Regions from separate parts of the Homo sapiens genome. Here region 1 is linked to region 2. The links are contacts of gene promoters, found by promoter capture Hi-C in blood cells and fetal thymus (Javierre and others, 2016). All regions are on one chromosome and are shown on one strand. The core of a region is centred on a gene start or on the middle of the fragment in contact, and the rest is flanking DNA. Distances in the headings are between cores, read along the strand shown. Region 1 overlaps LOC105376219 (a long non-coding RNA gene). Region 2 holds the start of C9orf152 (chromosome 9 open reading frame 152).

Region 1 (2,776 bases), core at 212-2,711, 1.1 Mb before region 2:
GTTGGCAACACATGGAAAAATTTCCAGTACCCAATTAAAGTTATGCAGGCTGATTTTCATTCATATGTTGCCAAACATTTCTGACGCTTGTGCATTTTTTAAAAATAAAAAATCAATGTCCCTTGGTAGTCACTTTCTGAACTTTCTAGAGCTTACATCTGTTCCAAGTCCTCTTTTTGGCGGTACTAATTTTTATTTCTTGTTATGGAGACAGCATTTTTTTTTTTAATGTGAGGGACAATTCCTTGAAGAGCTCTGATAATGCTCATTCAAGTTCTTACCATGAACAGTGGGCCGGAGTATATGTATATTGCCGTGGTTAAAGTATATAACTTTAATATACATTCACAGTTTTTATTATCTTCTTGTACAGTTTTGAAATTCTCATGTCTGAAAGCATGTTTTGTCTCATCACATCTTAAACTCTTGGACCTATTCTCAGGATGGACTTAAGGACAATAAGAATTTATCTGCTCATTGCCGTATTTACAATTCATCACAATTAATTTCATTTGATATAAAACAGATTCTGAAAGAAACTTTTTCAATTTTAACATGTTTGGATACTTCATGAAAAAAAAGCCATACAGAAGCTAGAAAGAGGGGGTAGATCTGGAGAGTGAGAAGAAATTATATATTCTGATTGCAGGCTCTATGGGGGAGAGGGGAGGGAGGGAAAGAGAGAGAGACAGAGGGAGAGAGAGAGAGAGAGAATGAATAAATCCTAGATAGTAGGTGCTGAGATCTGAAACTTCCTTGAATCCAGTCATCCTTGTGCTGAGTGTTTCCTGGGGAAAATGATGCTTGCAGGTGCGTATAAGGTCAAAATAAGTAAGGCACAGGGTTGAGTCTGAGCTATTGGTTGAGAGTTCTAAGAATCTGTGAACCCAAATGATATGGACCACATCCAAGCATGTGGCTGTGTTTCCTCTTTTATTTTTTGCCCAATAAAGTCAACAGTTGCACAAGTGGTAAATTATTGGTTAATGATGTCCAGGTACTCACAATCTGCCTACACGTATTGCTTATCTTTTAGCCTTGGGTTCTGTACTACTTGGGTGAATAAACTTCAGATGACATCTGTTGCCATTGGTAGAAAAGCCTGAACTAAGGGGTCTATGCCTGGAAGTGGAGCACAGTTATCACAAAACTAATGGGTTGGCTGGGCGCAGTGGCTCATGTCTGTAATCCCAGCACTTTGGGAGGCCGAGACGTGTAGATCACCTGAGGTCAGGAGTTCCAGACCAGCCCGGCCAACATAGCGAAACCTCGTCTCTACTAAAAATACAAAAATTAGCCAGGCATGGTGGCATGTGCCTGTAATCCCAGCTACTAGGGGGTGCTGAGGCAGTAGGCTCACTTGAACCTGGGAGGCGGAGGTTGCAGTGAGCCGAGATTGAGCCACTGTACTCCAGCTTGGGCAACAGAGTGTGACTCTGTCTTAAAAAAAAAAATGCTGATGGGTTGCAAGATTTTGATAGAAGTGTGGGCCCATTTTGCCATAAATTTATCAGGAAAAAAAGCTGGATCATACCTAAGTTACCGAACCACCTGGGCTTCACTAGTGACCTTATGTGGCAGTGTCAGCCCGAGAGGCAGTAGGGTATGGGGCCATCTGGTAGACAAAATTTTCTCTCTGGCTCCGTCCATGTTCCTGCAAAGGACATGATCTCACTCTTTTTTATGGCTGCCTAGTATTTCATGGTGTATATGTACCACATTTTCTTTATCCAGTCTACCTTTGATGGACATTTAGGTTAATTCCACGTCTTTGCTATTGTGAATAGTGACACAATGAACATATGCATACATGCATCTTTATGATATAACAATTTCTTTTCCTTTTATACATCCAGTAATGGGATTGCTGGATCGAATGGTAGTTCTGTTTCTAGCTCTTTGAGGAATCACCACACTGCTTTCCATAATGGTTGAATTGATTTACGCTCCCACCAATGGTGCATAAGTGTTCTCTTTTCTCCACAACCTTGTCAGCATTTGTTATTTTTTGACTTGTTAATAATAGCCATTCTGGCTGGTGTGAGATGGTATCTCCTTGTGGTTTTGATTTGCATTTCTCTAATGATGAGTGATATTGAGCTTTTTTTCATATGCTTGTTGGCCACATCTATATCTTCTTTGGAAGTGTCTGTTTTGTGTCCTTTGTCCACTTTTTAATGGGGTTGCTTGTTTTTTTCTTATAAATTTGTTTAAATTCCTGATAGATGCTGGATACTAGACCTTTATCAGATGCATAGTTTGCAAATATTTTCTCCCATTCTGTAGGTTGTCTGTTTTCTCTGTTTCTTTTGCTGTGCAGAAGCTCTTTTGTTTGATTAAATCCCATTTGTCAATTTTTGCTTTTGTTGCAATTACTTTTGGCATCTTTGTCATGAACTCTTTGCCTGTTCCTATGTCCAGAATGGTATTGCCTGGATTGTCTTCCAGGGTTTTTATAGTTTTGGGTTATACATTTAAGTCTTTAATCCATCTTGAGTTGATTTTCGTATATGGGGTAAGGAAGAGGTCCAATCTTCTGCATATGGCTAGCCAGTTATCCCAGTACCATTTATTGAATAGGGAGTCCTTTCCTCATTGCTTGTTTTTATCAGCTTTGTCAAAGATCAGATGGTTGTAGATGTATGTCCTTATTTCTGGGCTTTCTGTTTTGTTCCTTTGGCCATTATCCTTAGCAAACTAACACAGGAACAGAAAATCAAATACTGCATGTTCTTACTTATAAGTGGGAGCTAAATGATGACAACACATGGACACA
Region 2 (2,701 bases), core at 47-2,546:
CTAATCCAATGTGATTGCTGTACTTATAAAAAGGGGAAAATTGGGCACAGAGACACCCACATAGGAAGAACATCATATTAGGCCGGGTGTGGTGGCTCACGCCTGTAATCCCAGCACTTTGGGAGGCCAAGGCGGGCGGATCACAAGGTCAGGAGATCGAGACCACGGTGAAACCCTGTCTCTACGAAAAATACAAAAAATTAGCTGGGCGCGGTGGCGGGTGCCTGTAGTCCCAGCTACTCGGGAGGCTGAGGCAGGAGAATGATGCGAACCCGGGAGGCAGAGCTTGCAGTGAGCTGAGATTACGCCACTGCACTCCAGCCTGGGCGACAGAGTGAGACTCCCTCTCAAAAAAAAAATAAAATAAAAAAATAAAAAGGAAGAACATCATGTCAAGATAAAGGCAGAGATTAGGCAATGTTTTTGCAAGCCAAAGAATACCAGAGATTGCTAGCAAACCATCAGAAGCAAGGTGAGAGGCATGGAACAGATACTCTCACACAGCTCCAAGAAGAAACCAACCCTGCTCACACCTTGACTTTGGACTTCTAACCTCCAGAACTCTGAGACAATAATGTTTGTTGTTTAAGACATCCAGTTTGTGGGATTTCGTTATGGCAGCCCTAGCAAAACTAACATATACTACCCAGTGAAGATTTGCTCTCCATCTTCCACGGCTCCCCCACATCAAATGACTAGATCTTGTCTGGTTAATGTCCAAAATGTCTTGTAGGTTCAGGCTCTACTCTGTTTCCATTGCCTCTGTAGACATATTGGGTAATTGGGTAATCAGTAAGCACCGTGATAGGAGAAGATAGAAAGGGACTTAGTTGACCAAATGCAGCAAGGCTAGGTCAAAGCTGGTGTAAGAGGGAGAGGGTCTGGGATTCAAAAGCAATGTGGAAATGTTGAGGCTGGCAAGCAGAGAGTGAGGGGATGCCTAACTTACCACTTGGTTGGAGAATGCTGAGACGGCAGAGGCTGCACCAAATGTCCAAGGGGTAGGGCTGGCCCGAGGCCAAGATTCCCCTGGGCTCTGTCCCATGGCTGACTTTAGGGCTGAATTTTCACCTGGGGTGTGTGTTGGGGTCTGAGTGGAGATCTTGGGGAGATCTTTGCTACTGGGTTTCTTTAGGGTGTGGCCGCGGGGCACACATCCAGAGGCACCGACCTTGTGAAGCTCCCGAGGGTGTTCTTTGAACTACTGCAAACCCAACCGGCAGGTTTGCTGAAAAGTGGCCACGTTCCAGTCCAAAATGTGTGAGCAGAGCGCGAGCTTAGCACTCCCCAGCCCCAGTCCCAGCTCTGCCAGGAAAGGGGAGACTTCACCGTGGCACTGGGAATTGGATTCTAAACTTTAGGATCAAGCAATGGAAGGACCTGGAATAAGACACCTTCTTGACCCCCCTGAAGGGCTCTGAGCAGCTGGGCTTGCCTTTCTCTTTGCTCCCCCAGTCCTCCCCTTACTTCTCGGTCTCCCACTCCCCATCACTCCTTTCCCTGCCTCCTCCTGCCTGTCTCCATCTTCCTCCCTCTCTTTCTTCTCTCGCCCCATTAATCCCCGCTTGTCACTATCACCTCCTTCCTCCAGTCTTTCCCCCTTCGCTGCCCCTTCTTTCCTCTGACATTTCCTTCTCCTCTTACTGCCACTGTCTCCCACCTTTCTCCTCCCCCACATTTCTCCCTATCCCTACCTCCTCTTCCCCTTCATCTTTCTCCTTCCCCCTTATTTTTCTATCTCCTTCCTCAGTCCCACTCCTCTTTCCACCCTCCTTTTGCCCGTCACTTCTCCTTCTCCCTCACTGCCCCCTCCCTCTCTCTCCCCTCCCCAGGTCCTGCCCCACCCAGCTGTGTTTGCTTTTCTCCCGGATCCGGATGGAGGGGTTGCCCTGCCCGTGCCCAGCCCTGCCCCACTTCTGGCAGCTTAGGTCTCACTTAATGGCTGAGGGCTCCAGGACTCAGGCCCCTGGGAAAGGGCCCCCACTCAGCATCCAGTTCCTGCGAGCCCAGTATGAAGGCTTGAAGAGGCAGCAGAGGACCCAGGCCCACCTCCTGGTGCTTCCAAAAGGTAGGAATGGACAGGTGCTGGGGAAGGAGAGACTTACCATGGGAGACCTGAGTGGCAGAGCTGCAGGGAGGCAGAGCCAGGGCTTTGCCAGCCCTCCCTCCCAGTGGGGAAGAGCAGGGGAGGCGGGCTCAGGGCAGCTCTGCTCAGCTGTCCCACCTGCTAAGGGAGCCAGGGGCCTCAGCCAAGCACCTGGCTGCCAGCACTGTTCCTGGCCTCTGCTCTGATGTTCTAATCTTGCTAGACTGGTCAGCCTGGTGAGCCAGGCTTGGCCCCCCTGCTAGCCCAGGTATGGCGATAGGAGCTCTGCTTCCTGGCTGGGTCTAACTAAGGCACCTCCTACAAACCAGAGAAATTCACTCTGGAGGTAGAAGACATGGCGTTCCCAACAGCCTGGGAACTGTCTGGGCCAGAGGACGCCTAGGGCTCAGAGACCCATGAGGCATCCCAGGCTCATCCAGCCTCAAACATCAGGCAGGGAGGTGTGATTGGACACAGAAACCCCCTCATGGGGAGAAACCTCCTCCCTTTAGGAACTCAGATTTCATTCCAGGAGGGAGTTAGAGGCACAGGGCTCAGAAAGCAAGGGCATGTCAAATCCCAGCCCTTCCTCCTCTAACAGAGGAACAGGTTGAG

What was found. The method cuts DNA at HindIII sites, captures the fragments that hold promoters and counts their contacts. A CHiCAGO score of 5 or more calls a contact.
Region 1: a contact is called between a fragment that was not itself captured here and the fragment with the promoter of C9orf152 in region 2, in 1 of 17 cell types (neutrophils). The highest score is 5.3, in neutrophils.

What each region holds. Positions count from the first base shown.
Region 1 is chr9:111,280,309-111,283,084 of GRCh38, reverse strand. All of the region lies in intron 1 of LOC105376219 (a long non-coding RNA gene), which reads left to right. Among named protein-coding and RNA genes, the nearest start is that of MIR7702, 10 kb to the right of the region's middle. The HindIII fragment of the contact is 3,113 bases long and covers 1-2,776 here.
Region 2 is chr9:110,206,754-110,209,454 of GRCh38, reverse strand. It overlaps C9orf152 (chromosome 9 open reading frame 152), which reads left to right and starts at 1,296. Exons shown (of 2, transcript NM_001012993.3): 1 at 1,296-2,068. The coding sequence starts at 1,876. RefSeq lists enhancers at 1,626-2,126, 2,127-2,627. The HindIII fragment of the contact is 8,259 bases long and covers 1-2,701 here.